Regions from separate parts of the Homo sapiens genome. Here regions 1, 2, 3, 4, 6 and 7 are each linked to region 5. The links are contacts of gene promoters, found by promoter capture Hi-C in blood cells and fetal thymus (Javierre and others, 2016). All regions are on one chromosome and are shown on one strand. The core of a region is centred on a gene start or on the middle of the fragment in contact, and the rest is flanking DNA. Distances in the headings are between cores, read along the strand shown.

Region 1 (2,700 bases), core at 82-2,581, 1.3 Mb after region 5:
CCTGTCTCAGCCTCCCGAGTAGCTGAGACTACAGGTGCATGCCACCATGCCTGGCTAAGTTTTTGTATTTTTAGTAGAGATGGGGTTTCACCATATTGGTCAGGTTTGTCAGGTTGGTCTCGAACTCCTGACCTCAGGTGATCCACCCGCCTTGGCCTCTCAAAGTGTTGCTCTTTTATAGCAAAACCCACTTCACCCTTTCCCAGATCCCTGGCAACCACTAATCTATTCTCTATTTCTAGAATTTTGTTATTTCAAGAGTATTTAATCAATGGAGCTGCATAGTATGTAACCTTTTGGGATTGACTTTTTCCACTCAGCACAGTCCCCTGGAGATTTATCCAAGTTGTACTGTGCTTGTTCAATAGTTCTTTCCTTTTGATAGTTCATTCCTTTTAATACATGAATAGCATTCCATGGTATGAATGTACCACAGTTTGTTTAATGGTTCTTCTGTCAAAGCATATCTAGGTTGTTTCCAGCTCTGGGCTATTACAAATACAGCTCCTGTGGAAATTTGTGTACAAGTTTTTGTGTGGACATGTGTTTTCATTTTGGTGGGATAAATGTCCAAGAGTGTAATTTCTGGGTTATATGGAAATTGCATGTTTAGTTTTGTAATAAACTAAGCTGTTTTTCCATGGTAGTTTTACCATTTTATATTCCCACCAGCAATGTGTGAGTGACCTAGTTTTTCTGCATCCTCACTAGCATTTGCCATTGTCATTCTTTTTTAAAAAAATGTTAGCCATTCTGATAGGTGTGTAGTGGTAGTGATATCTTATTGTATTTGCCTAATGGCTAATGGTATCTAACAATGTTTCATTTACTTACTTAATATTTTTTAACCTCTTCAGTGACAAGCCCCTTCATATCTTTAGCCTATTTTCCAATTGAATTGTTTTCTTACTGTGCGGAGTTTGAGGATTCTTTATATATTCTAGCCACTAATCCTTTGTCAAATACATGGTTTGCAGATGTTCCTCCCAGTCTTAGCTTGTCTCTTCATCCTCTTAACAGAGTCTTTCACAAGGCAAAACTTTTAATTTAGATGAAGTCCAATTGCTCCGTTCAAAAAAAAAAGCTTCTCCTTTTGGTGTCAAGTCTAAGTATTCTTTGTCCATCCCTAGATTTTTTCCTTTGCTCTTCCTAAAAGTTCTATAGCCTTAGCCTTACACTTTTACATTTAATTTCATGATCCTTTCCAGTTAATTTTTGTATAATGTGTAAGGTTTAGGTTGAAGTTCCTTTCTCTCTTTTTCTCTCTATCCTTTCCTTTTTCCTTTTTTTTTTGCTTTTTTTGTGGTCTAAGGGATAGCCAGTTGCTCTAACACCATCTGTTGAATTGCTTTTGTGCCTTTGCCATAAATAAAGTGAGCATATTTGTGTAGGTTTATTTCTGGGATCTTTTTTTTTGTTGAGCTATGTTTCTATCCTTTCACATACTACTACATATTATTGTACCTACATAGTAGGCTTTATATGGAAAAGTGATTTCTTCCAATTTATTCTTGGTGAAGATTGTTTTAGATATGCTAAGGTCTGTGCTTTCTCGTATAAATTTTAAAATAAGCTTGCTATGTCTACAACAGCCCTTGCTGTGATTTTGATAGAAATTGCATTAAAGCTATAGCTCAGTTTGGGGAGAATTCACATATTTACTATATGAGTCTTCCAATCCATGAACAATATGTCTCTCCACTTATTTAGATCTTCTTTGATTTCCATCTCCAGAATTTTGCAATTTTCAGCATACAGATCTTGTACCTGTTTTGCTAAGTGTATACCTAAGTATTGCATTGTCTTCATTGTGGTTGTAAATGGTATTTTGTTAGGGTTCAACATGAAATGTGATTGACTTCTTTGTGTTGACCTTATATCCTGGTCCTTCCTGAACCTAGCAGTGGTATTTTATAAATTTCTCGTGGAAATTTTAATGTGCAGCCAAGGTTAAGAAGCATTCTTTTAGACAAAGACCAGTGGTGATATTTAGTGCCCTTAAAATCTTGTGGTTTCCAATTTCAATACCATTTAGCAATCCTTGGGTGTATGCCTGCATGATTCTGTCTTCTAATATCCACAGTCGTCATTACAAACGTTCCCCCTTCTTTTCAGCCCTTCTTTCCTTACTTTCTTATCTTGATCCTTTTTCCTGTTCTCCGAGGACTGTGCTTCCTACTTAACACCACCTGATACCAACAGTAACATAAGATTTTGTTTCTCTTCCCTCTAAGAATTTAGTAACTTATCTATAACTGTACCTATTCATTTCTTTCCACTGGGAAGAGTGAGAGATGACTTTTTTCCCATTAAAGACAAGACACTTCCCACCTGTAATTTCCAGCATCATTACCTTTATGTGAATATTTGGGCATACTTCTTTCATGTATTTCCTGTACTAGTCGTTTGTATTTAAGTAGTTGTAATAATATACCTATTGTAAGTTTTATTTTATTGTATATTTTCATTTATGATTGTCAGCATTGCTTCATAATATTAAAGACTTTTAAAATATAATTAATTTTAATGGATACATGGTAGCCTTTCCACAATTCATATGAAAATGGATTGTTTCCTTTTTAAAAAAATTTTAATAATGCTGGATTGACTATCCTTGTATATATATTTTTTTTTTCCAGGTCTAGGATTGCCTTAAAATAAACTTCCCAGAAGTAGAATTGCTAGATTTAGGGTAAAAAT
Region 2 (2,700 bases), core at 113-2,612, 1.3 Mb after region 5:
GTTACTAAACACACTAAAATGCAAGATTCTGCAAAATAAGTTCTCCCATGTGTAGAGTTAAACTGACTTTTCCTTAGGCTGCTTTAATCCTGGATTTGTTTCTTTTTTGTTTCTTTTGATAGTGGCTGCTTTAGTGCCCACTATATTTTGTTCTCAGGCTTTCATCTTTATTTTTAACATGTTCTCCCCAAATACAGGTCCTGCTTCACTTCAGACAAATAATAAATGCAAAACCTTAAAACAACAATTGCCACCACCCACACCTTCACCAGACAGTGCATCTTGGCCAGGTAATAAATGTTTACATTATCCCATTAATACTTTCAGCCAGAATTTGGCAAGAAGCATTGTCTGTCTAGCTTTGCTAAATTTTCTATGGAACACTATAACCTCTGTGTTTTCCTTCTGGTTGGTAGTTTTAGCTGAAAGTGGGGAGAGTTGTTATTAAGATTGTTGGAGATCATTCCTACCCCAAAGCTAGACCTGTTGCAGATTTTTAAAAAAATCTTGTGGTTGTGAACCAGTGCTTGAATATTGGAGAATTACATAGAATTATTTTAAGCTCTGAATCTGAATAAAAGTCCTTCTATATGCAAGTATCTTGCCTAGGTAAAGACCCTGGGTATGAGATGACCAAGACTAGCGCCAGCATTAGTATTTCTCTTCATTCTTCCACAGTTGCCACTCTCTGTTTGATAAAAGAGGATTTTGATTTTTAGTCAAAACTAACAGCAATGGAGGATTTGAAATCTCTAATAGACTTGTAGGAAGATGGAAGTTCTATTTTATTATCACTCTTGGTTTCCAAATGGTCAGTCTTTCTTTTGTTGCCCACATCTTCCCCAATACATTCAACCCCAGTAAACAACTAGTAAGAGTTTAAAGAAAATGTAAGATATAGAAGGTAGAATTGCAAGAGTGATGACTTTGAGTAGAAGAAAGAAGATGAGATCTAGTACCCAAAAGGAGGCGATGGTCTTAGGAGCAAAGTACATATCATCTATAGTTAACTGATGGAAGGCAGGATCTTGAGGCACCGGTGCAGGTATGAGGTGTTTGGGAATAGATGGAGATCGGAGCCTGTGGAATTTCTCTTCTGATGGCTTCTTTTTCTTAGCAGATGAACAAAAAGAAGCGGTTGTTCAAGAAAGTTTGATTTTTAAGAGAAAAAAGGATGACATATTTCTCGAGAAAATGACATAGTGAACTAGAAAGATATAGTAGGATTGCTGGGTAGCATAAAGGCCCCCTGAGATGAATGATCATAAATTGAGAGAGCAAAATGCCCCCAGTTAGCTTAGTTGTATGTTTTCCTCTGGATGCACTGAGGTAGATGCAGAGTAGGTAGAGGGTAGACTTAATCAAAGTGGAGTATCCCCAAGTATGTGAAGGGTATAAGGGAATTCAGAGTGTATGTGAAAAAGTGGTTAAAATGATGGATCATTGGAATTTAGGATGGGTAAGGAGTGAAATAAGGATGAGAGATTTGTTTGGGACAAAAATAAGGTAGGATAGATAAATTATGAGTCCCAAAAGGTGGAAGGAGTATTAAGGGAGGCTGAAAAGATGGAAGGTTGTGGTTGGAGAAAATGGTTCCTGAAACCGAGATTACAGAAGGCTTGGAGTTATTGCTACTGATCAAGTGTCTAGGGGCTGACCATAAGGATAAGTGGCTGAGGTCAGGTGGAATACAAGATCACTGGAGGAAAATTGAGGAGCTGGGAAACTTCAGTGCTGGAATCATCATGTATATAGTGATTGAATTCAGAAAGAATTATGACAGGAAAAGTGTTGGAGAAAATGACCGCTAAAATCTTCCAGGAATAAGGAGTGGACCCAGGACCATTTGTCTGGCAACATGAGTCAAAGAGTCAAAGCTGGGGATACATAGAGTTAGGTTAAAAGTAAATCTGGACTTGGGATTGAGACAGAGAGCAGACTTGGGTCCAAGATCCTATAAACTATTGATTTCAATGGACTGAGTTAAATGAATGAATTCAGTGAGTGCCTAAATAGGTTAATCCATGTAAGGCATTTATAACAGGAAGGGTCTGACCTGAGATAAGGGTCCATAAATGGTGGTGACAGTGCCATCTAATGTATTTTTTGAATGACCTTATTCAGACCATTAGAAAATGAACATTGTTAAAATGTAAAGAAAATGTTTCTCTTTTAAATATGTTCAGAAATGGTTATGCACGCCAAAAACTTTGAAAGTTTTATATACGGAAAGGTGTTGCTTTGTTTTTATTCTATGATTATTTTCGGAGACAAAATGTTAGGACCATGCCATATTTAACACCCACCCACTCCCGCTACTAACTTTTTACACTAGGGAATTAATGAATCTTAGCAATGGTTTCTTTCAATTGTTACTCCCATTTATAAAAAGTCTTGACTTGTTGGTAATTCATGGCTGTATGTGATTTCTGGTCAGATTTTTCACAGAGGATTCATATAGAGAGGGAGAAAAACTAAAAAGATTAGAAAGACAGGCTGAGGCCAGACTCTGAAAGATCTTGCAAGCTGAACTACTTCAGTTGCTTTCAGCAGGAAAACAATTTGATTTTTTTTGTTTTATACACCATTCCCAGATGGTAGGGCAAGGCGAGGGAAGATTATAGACTGAAAAATCATTTAGTTTACTATTAAATCAAAATGTTAAATATCTGATTGGTTCTTGTAGCTGTACAGATAAAA
Region 3 (2,735 bases), core at 114-2,613, 1.4 Mb after region 5:
TACACAATATTAACTAAAATGCACATATAGAACAATGTTTAGACCATCTGAACTAATCTCAGGAGCACAGAACCCTTCTCCCTGCATACCTCCTCTGCCCACCCCCGCTTCCCCCGCCCCAACCACCTAATGAATAGTCTGCATTCGCTCCTAAGCATCACCTTTTAACAATTCCATTCCCAAATGCAACCACTCCTAGGAAGTACTGAAAACAAATGCTTAGAGGGGTGTTACTTAAGCCCTCTACTTTTAACCTACATTGTGCACTTTTTTTTTTTGAAACGGAGTCTCGCTCTGTCGCCAGGCTGGAGTGCAGTGGTGCGATCTCGGCTCACTGCAACCTCCACCTCCCAAGTTCAAGCGATTCTCCTGCCTCAGCCTCCCGAGTAACTGGGGCTACAGGTGGACACCACCACGACCAGCTAATTTTTGTATTTTTAATAGAGATGGGGTTTCACTATGTTGGCCAAGATGGTCTCGATCTCTTGACCCCGTGATCCGCCTGCCTCGGCCTCCCAAAGTGCTGGGATTACAGGTATGAGCCACTGCAACAGGCCGTTGTACACTTTTAAACACCTAGAAAGACTAGATGTTTCAAACTGGACTTAAGTTTTTCATTATATACACAGTAGCATTGAATAAATGGTATACATACATAACACAGACTGTAATTTGAGTGTCTTCTAAATAGGAACATTCTGGCCTAGAACCCTTCCCTTTCCCACCTCTACCAACCCCGTGGACAGCTATAAGCCATCTGTAATGCTTAGGGGGGATTTTAACAATCTCACTTCTGTTTTTAAGAAGTCTTTCCTATGAATTTTAACACAAAGTGTACTCAATGTAGTAGTTTACTAATTCTACTTTTGTCATATACTGGCAACCTTTTTAACGTCGACTGGATGTAAATTAGGACTCCTTTGTCCACTTATATACACTATATACACAGCACAGTAAATGAAAATGCAGACATAAGGGACAATGGTCAATGTGCCTCCTCATAAACACACTGGACACTGGTAGAAAGCCCTTTGCACTTTGTGCTCCTCCTTCCCCCTGAACCAGCACAAATATCAAAATGTGTACTGCTCAGAGAATTGATCAATTTCCAAGACAATATTTCATATCAAAAGGATAGCTACAAAATGTGTTATTTACTACCTCTACTTTTAACATACTTTGTGCACTTCTAAACATCTAGAAAGACTAGATGTTTCAAATAAGGACTTAAGTTTGTCCGCTATATACACAGTAGTGTTGAATAAACTACACACATGTAACAATGGGTATATCTGAAAGTGTCTTCTAAATAGGAACATTCTGGTCTAGAACCCTTCATTCCTTCCAACTCCTCTCCACCACCAACCTGGTGGATATAGGCACGTGTCACTTAGAGCTGATGTTATCTCACTTCCAAAAGTCCTTTTCACAAGACAGCTTTTCTACAAATTTTAACAAAGTGTACAAAATGTGTTAGTTTACTAACTCTACTTCTGTCATACATTGGCAACCTCTTTAGTATCTAGAGACTAGATATTATAAAATCGGGACTCATTTGTCCATTATATACACAGTATAGCAAAGTTAAATGAAATGCATGTAACATATAGGCAATGGATTAAGCTGAAATTTGTTAATAAACAATGTCAAAACACCATTTGCAATTTCTTCCCTCCCACCTCCCAGGTGGTTCAACAATTCCACTTCCAAACAGCATTTCCCATCAGTTTTTAAAAGCTATTTACAAAGTGTTATTCTACTACCACTTTTAAATACATCAAGCACTTCCAAATATCTAGAAAGACTAGATATTTCATATAACTTGTCCACCACGTACACAGCACTGTTAAATAAAATTGCACACACATAACAATGGTTATCATCTGAGGTATCTTCTAAATGTGGCCATTTTGGCCTTGAATCATTCCCCCCTCCCTTCCTTCTCTGCCTTCAATCCAGTGGACAAGTACAGGCACATGTAATGCTTAGAGATGGTTGACCAAATTCCTATGCAAAAGTCATTTACAGAAGACAAGTTTTCGTATGAATTTCAACACAAAGAGTACAAAATATGCTAATTTTACTACATTGTCATACACTGGCAACCTCTTTAACATCTAGAGACTAGATGTTGAAAAATTAGGACTATTTGTCCATTATATACACTATATACAGAGCAAAACAAAATGCACAAAACATATAGAAAAATGGTGTCTGAAAACGTCCAAGTATGAACACACTAGTATATTACCTTTTGCAATTTCTTCCCTCCCACTTCCTCTAAACCATTGAACAAGTATAGACATTACTATACTGCTCACAAAGGTGGCTTCACAATTCAATTTCCAGAAGTATTTCCTATGAATTTTAGCAAAAAGATATTTACAAAGTGGTATTTTACTACCTCTACATTTAACATACATTGGGCACTTCTAAACATCTAGATAGACTAGATGTTTCAAGTAAGGAGTTAATTTGTCTACTATGTATACAGCAGTCTTGAATAAACTGCAAACATGTAAAAACAGTTATAATTTGAAAGAGTCTTCCAAATGTGAACATTCTGGCCTAGAACCCTTCCCATTTCCATCAACCCAGAATACATCAAATTTTCAGAAGACAATCTTTCCTAGGACTTGTAAAACAAAATGTACAAAATATATTAGTTTACTAACTCTACTTTTGTCATACACTGGCAACCTCTTTAACATCCAGAAAGACTAGATGTTGTCAAT
Region 4 (2,700 bases), core at 147-2,646, 1.3 Mb after region 5:
GAACATGAGGCATTAAATTATAAGTGCCAGAGTGATAGGATAGCTAGCTAACTTTTGATTACTTGCCCTGTAGCAGGTATTCACTAAGCATTTCACATGCATTATCTCATTTATTCCTCCTTACATACATAGGAGTTATGTGCATTGCTCTCCTCTCACCAGTGAGGGAAGTGAGGCTTTGAGAAGTTAAGTAACGTTCCCAAAGATACACAGCTGGCAAGAGGTGGAGTCAGAACTTGGCCTCTCTGACTCCAGAGTAACCTGGAAGATTATGAATGAACTTACATGCAAGAAAAGTACTGAGAAAATCATTGTAAAGAATTTATTCTATACGTATTGTTTTATTATATATATAGTAGGGATGGAATATATGAAGGAAGACAAGTCCAGTGTTGTATTAGTCAGGGTTCTCTTAGAGGGACAGATATATATATGTGTGTGTGTGTGTGTGTGTGTGTGTGTGTATGTGTGTGTGTGTTTATTAAGTATTAACTTACATGATCACAAGGTCCCACAGTAGGCTGTCTGCAAGCTGAGGAGCAAGGAAAGCCAGTCCGAGTCCCAAAACTGAAGAACTTGGAGTCCAGTGTTCTAGGGCAGGAAGCATCCAGCATGGAAGAAAGATGTAGGCTGGGAGGCTAGGCCCATCTCTGTTTACATGTTTTTCTGCCTGCTTTATGTTAGCTGGAAGCTGATTAGATTGTGCCCACCAGATTAAGGGTGGATCTGCCTTCCCCAGCCCACTAACTCAAATGTTAAATTCTTTTGGCAACACCCACACAGACACACCCAGGATTAATACTTTGTGTCCCTCAATCCAATCAAGTTGACACTCAGTATTAACCATCACAAATATGATTTTCAAGATCCTAGCTTGAATGGCGAGGTGAGTGGTAGAAGCCACTAGATGATAGAGAAATGTAAGAACAAGACTGTATTGACTCTTAAAATCATTTGGTTCAATTTAAGACATGTAGATATTAGCTTGTGGGAAATCCAAGTGGGGATATCTAAAAGTCTTAGGTCTAGGATTCAGGAAAGAGATTTAGATTGAAGAGAGAAATTTGGAAGTCATCTACATGTAGATGAATAAAAATAGAGTAATGAACATTACCTTGGCAATATCTTTTCAGGCTAAACAATGAGATCCTGAAAAAAAGACTGATATTGAAAACAGCCATCAATGTATAAGGAAAACCATGAGATTAATATCAAGAAACCAAGGAAGGAAGAAGTGCTTAAAAGAGCCAGATGGAACAGGGATATTAACGGATATACAAGAAATCACATTTCTGGGATCTGGCATCTAGTGTATGAATGGTAGTGTTAGTGAGATCTACAGTAGAGTAGTTTTATGATTTACCAGGGTAAGCAAGTGGGGTCAGTTAGTGCAACTTCTCTAATTACTTTCAATTAATTTTTTTTTCTTCTACAGAGTCTTTAAACAAATTTGAACCAAAGTTACCTCCCCAAAACAATCCTGTATCTACCGTAAAAGCTATTCTGCATGGTGAGTTGGTGACATGTTATTACTATCTGTTTAATCTTGTTTCTTCATTAACTAGATGTCTCTTTTGGAAGCCCTTATCTTACATTGGCTATAACTCCACAGTGAAGAAGAATGAGTCTTATATTTAGGTCCATAAAACGTCCAGAGTCATATTTGGATTTATAGTTAGACTCATAAATAGAGGGAAGAACAAATGAGCTTTAGGTTAGGAAGAAAAGGGTATAAAGCAATGTTTTGTCCTCATTCATTCCTCTACAAACTTAATATTTAAAATGACTTCTATAGTCAGTGTGGGGCAAAGAGAGAAAACAAAGGTTTTTTATTTTAAATTCACACTGGCATCTTTTAATTTCCTTATGCTCTAAGGCATCTGGGTAAATACTATGATCCCTCATTGTTCCACATACATGTATTGAATATGTTCAAGTTGATGGACTGGAATAGAAAGTTGCACAAGGAGCTATTAGAGAAGAAAATATCTGCCTGTTGCTGGAGGGTTGGAGAAGGCTTCCTAGAGATTAGTGCTTGGGCTATGGGTCTCATCAATTCCTGATAAGAGAACAGCATTTAGATGCCTGAGCAAATTTGATATGTTTGAGGATTGATACATGGATTCATACAGTGAGAACAAGAACTAAAACAAGAAGATATAATGAAGAACCTTATGTACTCTGCTAACAAACTTGAAATTTTCCTACTAGAATGTAAGTTCCATGGGGGCCAGTATTTTTATCATCTATTCTATTCCACCAATAATATATCACCAATGTCTGGAACAGTGCCTAGCAAATGGCAAGCACTAAATAAATATTTGCTAAATGAATAAATAAAATTCTGTAGGCCAGTCCCTAAAATTCTGGTTGCCTAGCATAGTCTGGGAAGGCTTCTTAAAATCAGATTTTTCAGAGGTGAGTTTTGGGAGTCAATATTATTATAAAGCCTATCTGATGTTTGAGAATCACTACTGTTAACTATGGCAAGCTATTGGAGGAGTATGTTCTAAATTACTGCAACCTTATGGGTCATTGGTTTCATCTTTACTGTAGATGTCTGTGGCATCCCTCCATTTAGTCCCCAGTGGCTTTCCAGAAGAATCGCAGGAGGGGAAGAAGCCTGCCCCCACTGTTGGCCATGGCAGGTGGGTCTGAGGTTTCTAGGCGATTACCAATGTGGAGGTGCCATCATCAACC
Region 5 (2,700 bases), core at 168-2,667:
CCTGGCCTCGAACTCCCGACCTCAGGTGATCCACCCCGCCTCGGCCTCCCAAAGTGCTGGGATCACAGGCTTGAGCCACTGCGCCGGCAGGGGGCAAACATTTCATGATTAATCTGACTGAAATACCATTTTTAGGTTCATCATTAGCTCGGACTACAACTCAGGCTGTGCTGTAACTTTGTGTCAACTCATTGATCCAACAGTGTGTCCTTCACATTTTTTCTTATGGCCACTGTTTTTTGTGTTACCAAAGGTGAAGGCATAGCCTTCCTCTCCTCATGTTCAGCATCTTCTGCGTTTCTCTGTTTATAAACAATGAGAAAAAGGGAAAATCTAGTATTTCTCTGACCCTGAAGAACACATATGGGATTCAGAGATTCAAAGTTAAAATGCAACATTAGGGTACATTATGTCACCAGGGACCGAAAAGAACACGGATAATAGATGCCAAAAAAATGTATTAAGTAATGTTAAAATTAATTTGTGTGAAGTTGACCAAGGCTTTTAAAACTAGACCTTTGTTTCCTTGATTCTTCTTCTGAATTTTCTGTTCTTTTGCTAGTCTCAATATTTTTTATCAGAGCGTCAGGGACAATCAGGACCTAAAAAACTCCACTTGGTGTAATAAGTAAACACATGTTGGGGCAAAGTATTGCTGAGTGTGTGTGTGTGTTTCTTATTTGGTATCAGAAACACCTTCCTTTCCTCAATAAACTTTTACATATTTCCAGACTTTTCTCTTAATTTTATGTAACCTTACAAAGATTTTTTACAGCTTTCTCTGCGTGCCAGTCAATTAATGTGTGTCACATGAACAAATAATACGGCTTGAATAAACTCAATCCTATTATTGCAGGTTGCGAAGTCACCTACTCCGTTTTTATGGCGATGCTGATTTGGGGCATTCTGCTCTTACAGGCTGATTCCCCGGTAAGGAAACGGTGTTTTTTCCCCATCCTACTATGAAAGATGCTATCTGAGGGGCAAAGGCGCATCTGCATTTCACGACTACCCACTAGGCTACGACAGCCTCAAGCATGGCTTATCTGGTAGTTCCGCGAAGGGCTCGCTGCCCTCCTGGAGCTATTGGAGTCACCTGTTCAAGGTCGCGAAACCACCGGTGCCGCCGGCAATCAGCGAGGTCCAGCGGGGCTGCGCGGTTTCCGGCCTGCCGGCGTTCGGCGTCGCCTCGGCCCCACCTGGTGCCCCGCAATCTGCGCAAAGGCTGGGAGACCGCGCCCTCTCCCGACCTACCACCAGCCCAAGCTGGGCCCGGAACTAACACCCGACAAGCGCTGGCGGCCAGCTGCAGCCGGGAAGGAGCACCGGAAGGAGGCGGTGGCGGGGCGGCCGAGGGCGGAGCGGGCCGGGGCGGGGCGCGGCCTACAAAAGCCACGCGCGGCGCGGTGGGCGGGCCTGGGCGCGAGCGGCTGAGTCGGCTGGGTCTCTGGCGCCGCAGAGGCCGCGGGCGAGGACCGGGAGGGGAGAGGGAGGAGACAGGAGGAGGAGACGCGAGTGCGGGGTGGCGCCGGTCCACCTCCGCAGCGCTCCTGCCTCCCCCAGGCTTTGGAAGGCGGGCCCGGGCTGCGGCAGCGGCGGCCTCGGCTGCCTGGGGAGGTGAAGTCGGGCTGCGGCGGCCTCGGTCGGCGCGGCGGAGGGAGGCGGCTGACCCGGCGAGGGTGGGCAGGTCTGGGCGGCCGGCGCCGCTGCGAGGTGGAGGGGCGGCTTGGCATCCCCGGGGCGGGGCGGGGCTCCCGAGGGCCGCGGTCGGTGCGTTTTCCGCAGGTCAGCCTCCCCCGGGGCCTTGCAGAAGCGGCTTCTGCGTACCCGGGGCGGCTGTGGGAAGGGTGGGGGTCGGTGCCTGCAGGGCTCTCCGTGGCCGCTCGGGAGAGGTGCTCTTCGCTCAGGCTCCCCCGGAGACTTGAGGGGGTGCGCGCTGGCGTGCATGGGGCCTGTTCTGTCCTTGGTTTGGGGATGCTCCTAAGGGGGGAGAAAGGGATACCTCGGGTGCTTGGAGGTCGAGAGACGGATACGTAAGTGCGCAAGGGCCACTGATTAGGGCACGGGAAGGGCTCGCTAGAATGAGCTCTTAAACTGGTTGGGTGTAAGCGGTTTTGGGCTAGTCTAAACCAAACAACTGAGAATAAACGCGGGGTTCCTGCAGGTTGAGAGAGTACCTGTCTGCAAATGTCCAGTAGTGATGGATTGCCTTGTAGGCCCCAGAGCAATCGGGGAAGTTAGCATTCTTGTTCAAGAAGCTGCTGGTTCACTTAGAGCTATAAAAGAATGTTGTGAGTTTGGATTTTCTTCCAAACGTTCAGGATTGAGGTTAGGGCTGGTGGTGAGGGATCATGTAAAGAGGTTTGAGTGGCTCAGCCTTAGGTCCCGGTGTGGAAAGCTTATTCTTTTGGTGTCATCACGTGGCCATGGGAATTATTTAGAATGTGATCTGCCCTCATGAGAAGAAAGGAGCTCTGAAGCCGTTGCAGTTCTTCCTCCCTATGTGGAAAATCGAATTTCTGGAAACATCCTCCGTATTGGGAGATTTTGCCTATGTAAAGGCTATCCTTATTGGCTAGCGGCACTAATTACTTTAAAAGTAGGATGGAAGTACAAGTATCTCAAGCATCATTGGGTTTCGAGCTCACTTCTGTGGAAAAGAGTTTAAGGGAGTGGTCTAGACTTTCCAGGGAAGTTATT
Region 6 (2,700 bases), core at 45-2,544, 1.3 Mb after region 5:
GATAATTTGATCATCTTGTTCTACTGTCTTCTAACATTCGCTTACTGCTGTTGAGAAATCAAGAACATTCCATTTTTGGTAATATGTTTTTTTCCTTCTAGATTTTTTTGAGATCCATTCTTTGTTTTTAGTGTGCTACATTTTCAGCAATGTCTAGATACAAAATTATTTTTTGCATCATAGTTGGAGTTACTGGGCTTTTTTCTAAAGATTTGGATATCAATTGTGATCAGTCCTCAGCCACTTTCTCTTGAATTACAGTCTCTTCCCACCATTATCCATATTTTTTCTAAGCTTCCCAGGTTCTTTACAGCTCCTCTCATGGCCAGTTAAATTTCTAGGATCTTAAAGATCAATTCAATCTCTCAAAGGCAGTGGCCTGGCTAATTCCTCTGGATTTGTGTTCAATAACTGTCAAGTGAAAAACTACCCTTTCAAAACACAGGCATAGTCTAAAATGTTAGTACATTAGGGGGCTCGTGGTGTGCGGAACAATTGGCCTTATGTTTATCCTTGTTTTACTTTTTCTGCATTTCTCAAAATTTCTATAAATACAAAACGGTTTTATATGGAGGGGCCAAAACTTAAAATATGTCACCATTACATTTAGGAAGAAAGTGTAGAAGCCATGAAATCAAGAGATTTCACTTTTCCAAATATATTCAACATGGCGTATTTATCCATGAACCTCATGCCTTTGTTGTTTTCTCAGGAAATGCTGTTCAGCCAATCTGTCTTCCTGACAGCGATGATAAAGTTGAACCAGGAATTCTTTGCTTATCCAGTGGATGGGGCAAGATTTCCAAAAGTAAGAGACACCAAAATGACTTAATACTTCTTCCAGCTCTCTGTATGTCCAGGGGAAGCAGAAATAATTTTGTTGACCATGAGTAGTACATTTATCATTTTTTATAACTAATTTCTGACACAACGAAGATTTCTGGTAGTCCTCAGCATTGAAAGGCTTATACTTTTAAAAAGGCTATTCATATCACTCCTGCTGCTGCCAATTTGGTATGGCAGATAAAGGAAGCTGGATAGAGCTGTGACAGATGAGGAGGAATAAGGCAAAAGGATGATCAGGAAATAGCAACAATAGTTAAGCTTCTTTGTCTTTAATATTGTGACTTTTTTGAAAAGTCAGACTCGGAAACAAAAAGTAGAAGGGTGATTACCTGGAATTTGAGAATGAGAGAAACGGGAAGATGTGGTTCAAAGGGTGTAAATGTGGAATTGTATGACAAGTAAGTTCTGGAAATCCAATATACTGCATGGGAACTATAGTTAATATATTGAATACTTGAAATTTGCCAAGAGAGTAAATGTTAAGTATTCTCACTACAAAAAAGTTAACTCTGTGGGGTGATGTAATGTTAATTACCATGATTATGGTAATCATTTTGCAATGTATACATATATTAAAACATCACTTTGTACTCCTTGAATAAATACAATTTTTATTTGTCAACTATACCTAAAGCTTGACAACAATACATTGTGATTTTTTATTTTATAAATAATTTTAGGCAGGGCGCAGTGGCTCACGCCTGTAATCTTAGCACTTTGGGAGGCCAAGGCAGGAAGATGGGAGCCCAGCAGTTCCAGACCAGCCTGGATAACATAGGAAGACCTTGTCTCCACAAAAATAAATAAATAAATAAATAAAAAATAAAAAATTAGCAAATCACGGTGGCATGCCTGTAGTCCCAGCTACTTGGGAAACTGAGGTGGGAGAATCACTTGCTCCCAGGAGGTTGAGGCTACAGTGAGCCTTGATTGTACCATTGCACTCCAGCCTGAGTGACAGAGGGACACCTTGTCTTAAAAAAATCATTTTTATAAAACATTGCCATATTGACCAAAGTTTTCCTCTTTTGGGGAAACATTTAAGCATTTGTTTAGAGCAGCCACAATTGTACAATTGCCTATGTTACCTTAAAAATCTGCTGAATTTTCAAAAAATGTCCTCTGCCACATATCTGATTTTTAGAAGTGAATATGATTCACACCTAAAAACAATTACTTCTACATGTGGTTAAAAATCTGTTTGAAATAGTTCCAAACTTGTAGACTTCCCATTAATTTGTTTCCATGAGGATATTGTGTGCTAACTTATCTGTCCTCTCTCTACAGCATCAGAATATTCAAATGTCCTACAAGAAATGGAACTTCCCATCATGGATGACAGAGCGTGTAATACTGTGCTCAAGAGCATGAACCTCCCTCCCCTGGGAAGGACCATGCTGTGTGCTGGCTTCCCTGATTGGGGAATGGACGCCTGCCAGGTACAAAAGTGTAAACCAGCCTAGCTGTTCAGTAACATGTGGGTGAAAGTAGATTCTGCCTTTCCCCAAAAGAAGCTCATGTTTCTTCTATTACTGTGTCAAAATTCTTTTTCCCTTCATCTTTTCCTCTGATTTCTACTGAAAAAGTGTACTTGACCTGAGCAGAAAGAATTATTTCCTGTCTCCACGTCCATTCCTACCCCTACACTTCTTTTATTTCGGTGGGTTGGCAAAAGGGGTTAGTTTCAACGTGTGCAACCTAATGGAATCAAGCAAGATGACCACTTTCACAATCTTATTAGGCCTAGCTATGAATTCTTCATTTCACATATTGTTAAGCATTGTGGATTTTTTTTCCTTTGGTGCAGAATATATTTGCACAAAGTTTGACTGAAGATACATAGCTTTAGTCACT
Region 7 (2,700 bases), core at 128-2,627, 1.3 Mb after region 5:
AAATCAGGATGAACTATATAATTCAAATTTGTTTAAAAAGTAAATGAAATACAGGTCTAAAAAGATCAATATGTTTAATTGGACATCTTTATAAGATTATGAGTAATTTTTTTTGAAATTCTCTAAATTTTTCCCAGTGAATAAATAAACATTTCTAATTTTAAGGCTATAAATAGGGAAAAGAAGGAGGAAAAATATGTCTTGTTCTACAAGCTGAAATGGATTCATAGTGGAGCAGTTACAGGGAGCTTCATGACAGTATTCAAACCATTTAGCAGCCTGCCTCACAAGAAAGGGAACCAGATGAGATTACATCATCTTCTGAGGGGTGCTTTAGAAATCTTAGGGTAGTGGGAGGTTGAAGGAAACTGCTATTACCAATACCCTTTTTAAGTCACGGGGCCTCCGGGTGCGGTAGCTCATGCCTGTAATCCCAGCACTTTGGGAGGCCGAGGTGGGCGGATCACGGGGTCAGGAGATCAAGACCATCCTGGCTAACACAGTGAAACCCTGTCTCTACTAAAAATACAAAAAATTAGGCGGGCGCCTGTAGTCCCAGCTGCTCGGGAGGCTGAGGCAGGAGAATGGCGTGAACCCAGAAGGAGGAGCTTGTGGTGAGCCGAGATCGCGCCACTGCACTCCAGCCTGGACGACAGAGCGAGACTCCGTCTCAAAAAAAAAGTGGTTTTTAAGAGACAGGTTCTCGCTATGTTGTCTAGGCTCAAGTGCAGTGACTATTCATAGATATGATCGTAGTGTATTCAGCCTTGAACTCCTGGGCTCAAGCAATCCTGTTCCTCAGCCTCCCCAGTAGCTGGGACTACAGGCTCACGCCACGGGTCTGGCTGTTCTAAGAAATACTGTCTAAAATGTTTCATTTTGACCAACTAATGGGTTTGACTTGTGTGGCAATTACTGCAACTTGCCTGTTATAAATTTGGCCACTGTGGATAAATGAAGGTTATATGTAGCTAAAGCTCAAATATACTTGCTAAAAATATTATATTTCAGTTTGGTGACAGCAATAACTTTTTAGTTCCCTGAGGACCCAGTCTTAGACCATGTCACCTTTTCTTACAACATATAGTTTTTAAAAGATGTACCTAAGTTATTCCGACATCATAAGAACTGGGCATTATGTCCTAGTTGATTTAGAACTACTGTCTTAAAACTGCTTAGACTCAGGAATAGGGAACATCCAGCTCTCTATTCTAATTGGCTTTTATTCAGTTATTTTTCCCATTTTTATATTGATATAGCAGAAATTTATAATTTCAAACATAAGAATTTTTTACTTTGCTCAATAATCTTTGTCTTGATGAATAGTAAGGTTTTTTTTTGTTGTTGGGGACAAGGTAAATTATGTGAAAGAGATTCACTTTTATGAAAATCTCTTACGATTTTCACATATAATGTCATTTTGGCCATGAAGAGTTTTCTCTGAGAGACTCTTTTTGTATTTCTGGTAAGTCCATTTTTTCCCTATTTGTTGTTTTTGTTCAATTTCTTGTGCTTCTTTTGTTCCATATGTATGTTTTTGTTCAATTTATTGTGCTTTATTGGGAAAATTTTGTTATCGAATAAGTAAATTAATAGATTGTAATTCTTTGTTTCATTTGTCAGCTTTAGGAAAGGACAAAAATATAATATTTAAAATTCTGACTTCTGTAATCTGTGGAGGCCTCATGCTAAACCTGTATGAAGTACAAGATTGAGCAGATTTTTTTTAACACCTAAGCATACTCTTTATTTTTCTGGATACTTGGAATATTGCGACAATACAGTCAGAAATTTTTATCCCTAGCAAAGAAGTTTCAAGTAGCTTTTCTCTTTTGGAATTCACTTCCTGAATGTACTAATATCAAGAATAATTTGTCCTTTTTTTCTTTACTTGTTTGATTAGTTCATATGTGTTAGTTGTAACCAGATTTTTGAAAGATACGCTTTGTCCGTCATCCTGTGGTTTGAGCAAAGGCACTAATAGCATTATGAAAACGGGTAACTATTGCAAATTATAGAAATCGGATATCATAGAGAAACATTTGCCATTATATTTAATTCTGAATATTTATTAGAATTCCCTCAGTACTTAAGATTAATCCATTCACACTCATTTTTTTTTAATCAGCCAGCAGGCTTTGCTTTACTGCCCATTTTACCTTTTGTTTCTTTTTTTTTTGGACATGTTAATTGAAATACAGTTTGGGAGGCATTTCCATTAAAAACATTTTACTTAATTTTAGTATGATAATGTAAGAAGTGTTGGAAAAAGAAAACAGAAGAAATTTGCATCAAATTTAAGTTATGTAAGTATATCATAAGGGACTAACATAAAATAGAAAAAAATCTCACATTTAAACCGAGAATTATTCAGACCACCAACAAATTGTTGTAGGAATATGCCAGGCACTATTCAAAGAAATGAAGATTGAGCAATGAACAAGACAGTCCCTGCCATAGTAGCACTTACAGTCTAGTAATGGAGATCGTCAATAATCATATAAAAATATATAGTATATTAAGTTACTGTATTAGTCCATTTTCATACTGCTATGAAGAAATACCTGAGACTGGGTAATTTATAAAGAAAAAGAGGGTTAATGGACTCACAGTTCCACACAGCTTGAGAGGCCTCATAATCATGGCGGAAGGTGAAAGAGGAGTAAAGGCACGTCTTATGTGGCAGCAGGCAAGAGAGCG

Evidence for each region. The method cuts DNA at HindIII sites, captures the fragments that hold promoters and counts their contacts. A CHiCAGO score of 5 or more calls a contact.
Region 1: a contact is called between a fragment that was not itself captured here and the fragment with the promoter of CAPRIN2 in region 5, in 5 of 17 cell types (total CD4 T cells, naive CD4 T cells, activated CD4 T cells and 2 more). The highest score is 9.4, in total CD4 T cells.
Region 2: a contact is called between a fragment that was not itself captured here and the fragment with the promoter of CAPRIN2 in region 5, in 5 of 17 cell types (M1 macrophages, non-activated CD4 T cells, naive CD8 T cells and 2 more). The highest score is 8.4, in M1 macrophages.
Region 3: a fragment that was not itself captured here is called in contact with the fragment with the promoter of CAPRIN2 in region 5 in 1 of 17 cell types (activated CD4 T cells); the score reaches 5.9 in activated CD4 T cells.
Region 4: a contact is called between a fragment that was not itself captured here and the fragment with the promoter of CAPRIN2 in region 5, in 1 of 17 cell types (neutrophils). The highest score is 6.1, in neutrophils.
Region 6: a contact is called between a fragment that was not itself captured here and the fragment with the promoter of CAPRIN2 in region 5, in 2 of 17 cell types (total B cells and non-activated CD4 T cells). The highest score is 5.5, in total B cells.
Region 7: a fragment that was not itself captured here is called in contact with the fragment with the promoter of CAPRIN2 in region 5 in 6 of 17 cell types (monocytes, M2 macrophages, M1 macrophages and 3 more); the score reaches 13.1 in monocytes.

The regions. Positions count from the first base shown.
Region 1 is chr12:29,414,672-29,417,371 of GRCh38, reverse strand. The region is part of intron 1 of OVCH1-AS1 (OVCH1 antisense RNA 1); the gene reads right to left. It also overlaps a transcript of OVCH1 not described here. Among named protein-coding and RNA genes, the nearest start is that of OVCH1-AS1, 27 kb to the right of the region's middle. The HindIII fragment of the contact is 489 bases long and covers 1,087-1,575 here.
Region 2 is chr12:29,452,431-29,455,130 of GRCh38, reverse strand. OVCH1 (ovochymase 1) reads left to right here. Exons shown (of 26, transcript NM_001353179.2): 21 at 198-290. The region is part of intron 1 of OVCH1-AS1 (OVCH1 antisense RNA 1); the gene reads right to left. Among named protein-coding and RNA genes, the nearest start is that of OVCH1, 44 kb to the left of the region's middle. The HindIII fragment of the contact is 3,720 bases long and covers 1-2,700 here.
Region 3 is chr12:29,390,739-29,393,473 of GRCh38, reverse strand. The region is part of intron 1 of OVCH1-AS1 (OVCH1 antisense RNA 1); the gene reads right to left. Among named protein-coding and RNA genes, the nearest start is that of OVCH1-AS1, 2.8 kb to the right of the region's middle. The HindIII fragment of the contact is 3,369 bases long and covers 1-2,735 here.
Region 4 is chr12:29,471,839-29,474,538 of GRCh38, reverse strand. It overlaps OVCH1 (ovochymase 1), which reads left to right. Exons shown (of 26, transcript NM_001353179.2): 15 at 1,436-1,510; 16 at 2,557-2,700. All of the region lies in intron 1 of OVCH1-AS1 (OVCH1 antisense RNA 1), which reads right to left. Among named protein-coding and RNA genes, the nearest start is that of OVCH1, 24 kb to the left of the region's middle. The HindIII fragment of the contact is 6,415 bases long and covers 1-2,700 here.
Region 5 is chr12:30,753,668-30,756,367 of GRCh38, reverse strand. CAPRIN2 (caprin family member 2) reads left to right here and starts at 1,417. Exons shown (of 19, transcript NM_001385503.1): 1 at 1,417-1,617. It overlaps LOC645485 (a long non-coding RNA gene), which reads right to left and starts at 1,294. Exons shown (of 2, transcript NR_135046.1): 1 at 1,097-1,294. RefSeq lists silencers at 1-92, 1,184-1,863 and enhancers at 1,791-1,960, 1,964-2,043. The HindIII fragment of the contact is 2,894 bases long and covers 1-2,400 here.
Region 6 is chr12:29,489,205-29,491,904 of GRCh38, reverse strand. It overlaps OVCH1 (ovochymase 1), which reads left to right. Exons shown (of 26, transcript NM_001353179.2): 5 at 713-808; 6 at 2,134-2,285. Among named protein-coding and RNA genes, the nearest start is that of OVCH1, 7.1 kb to the left of the region's middle. The HindIII fragment of the contact is 376 bases long and covers 1,107-1,482 here.
Region 7 is chr12:29,433,357-29,436,056 of GRCh38, reverse strand. All of the region lies in intron 1 of OVCH1-AS1 (OVCH1 antisense RNA 1), which reads right to left. It also overlaps a transcript of OVCH1 not described here. Among named protein-coding and RNA genes, the nearest start is that of OVCH1-AS1, 45 kb to the right of the region's middle. The HindIII fragment of the contact is 3,133 bases long and covers 1-2,700 here.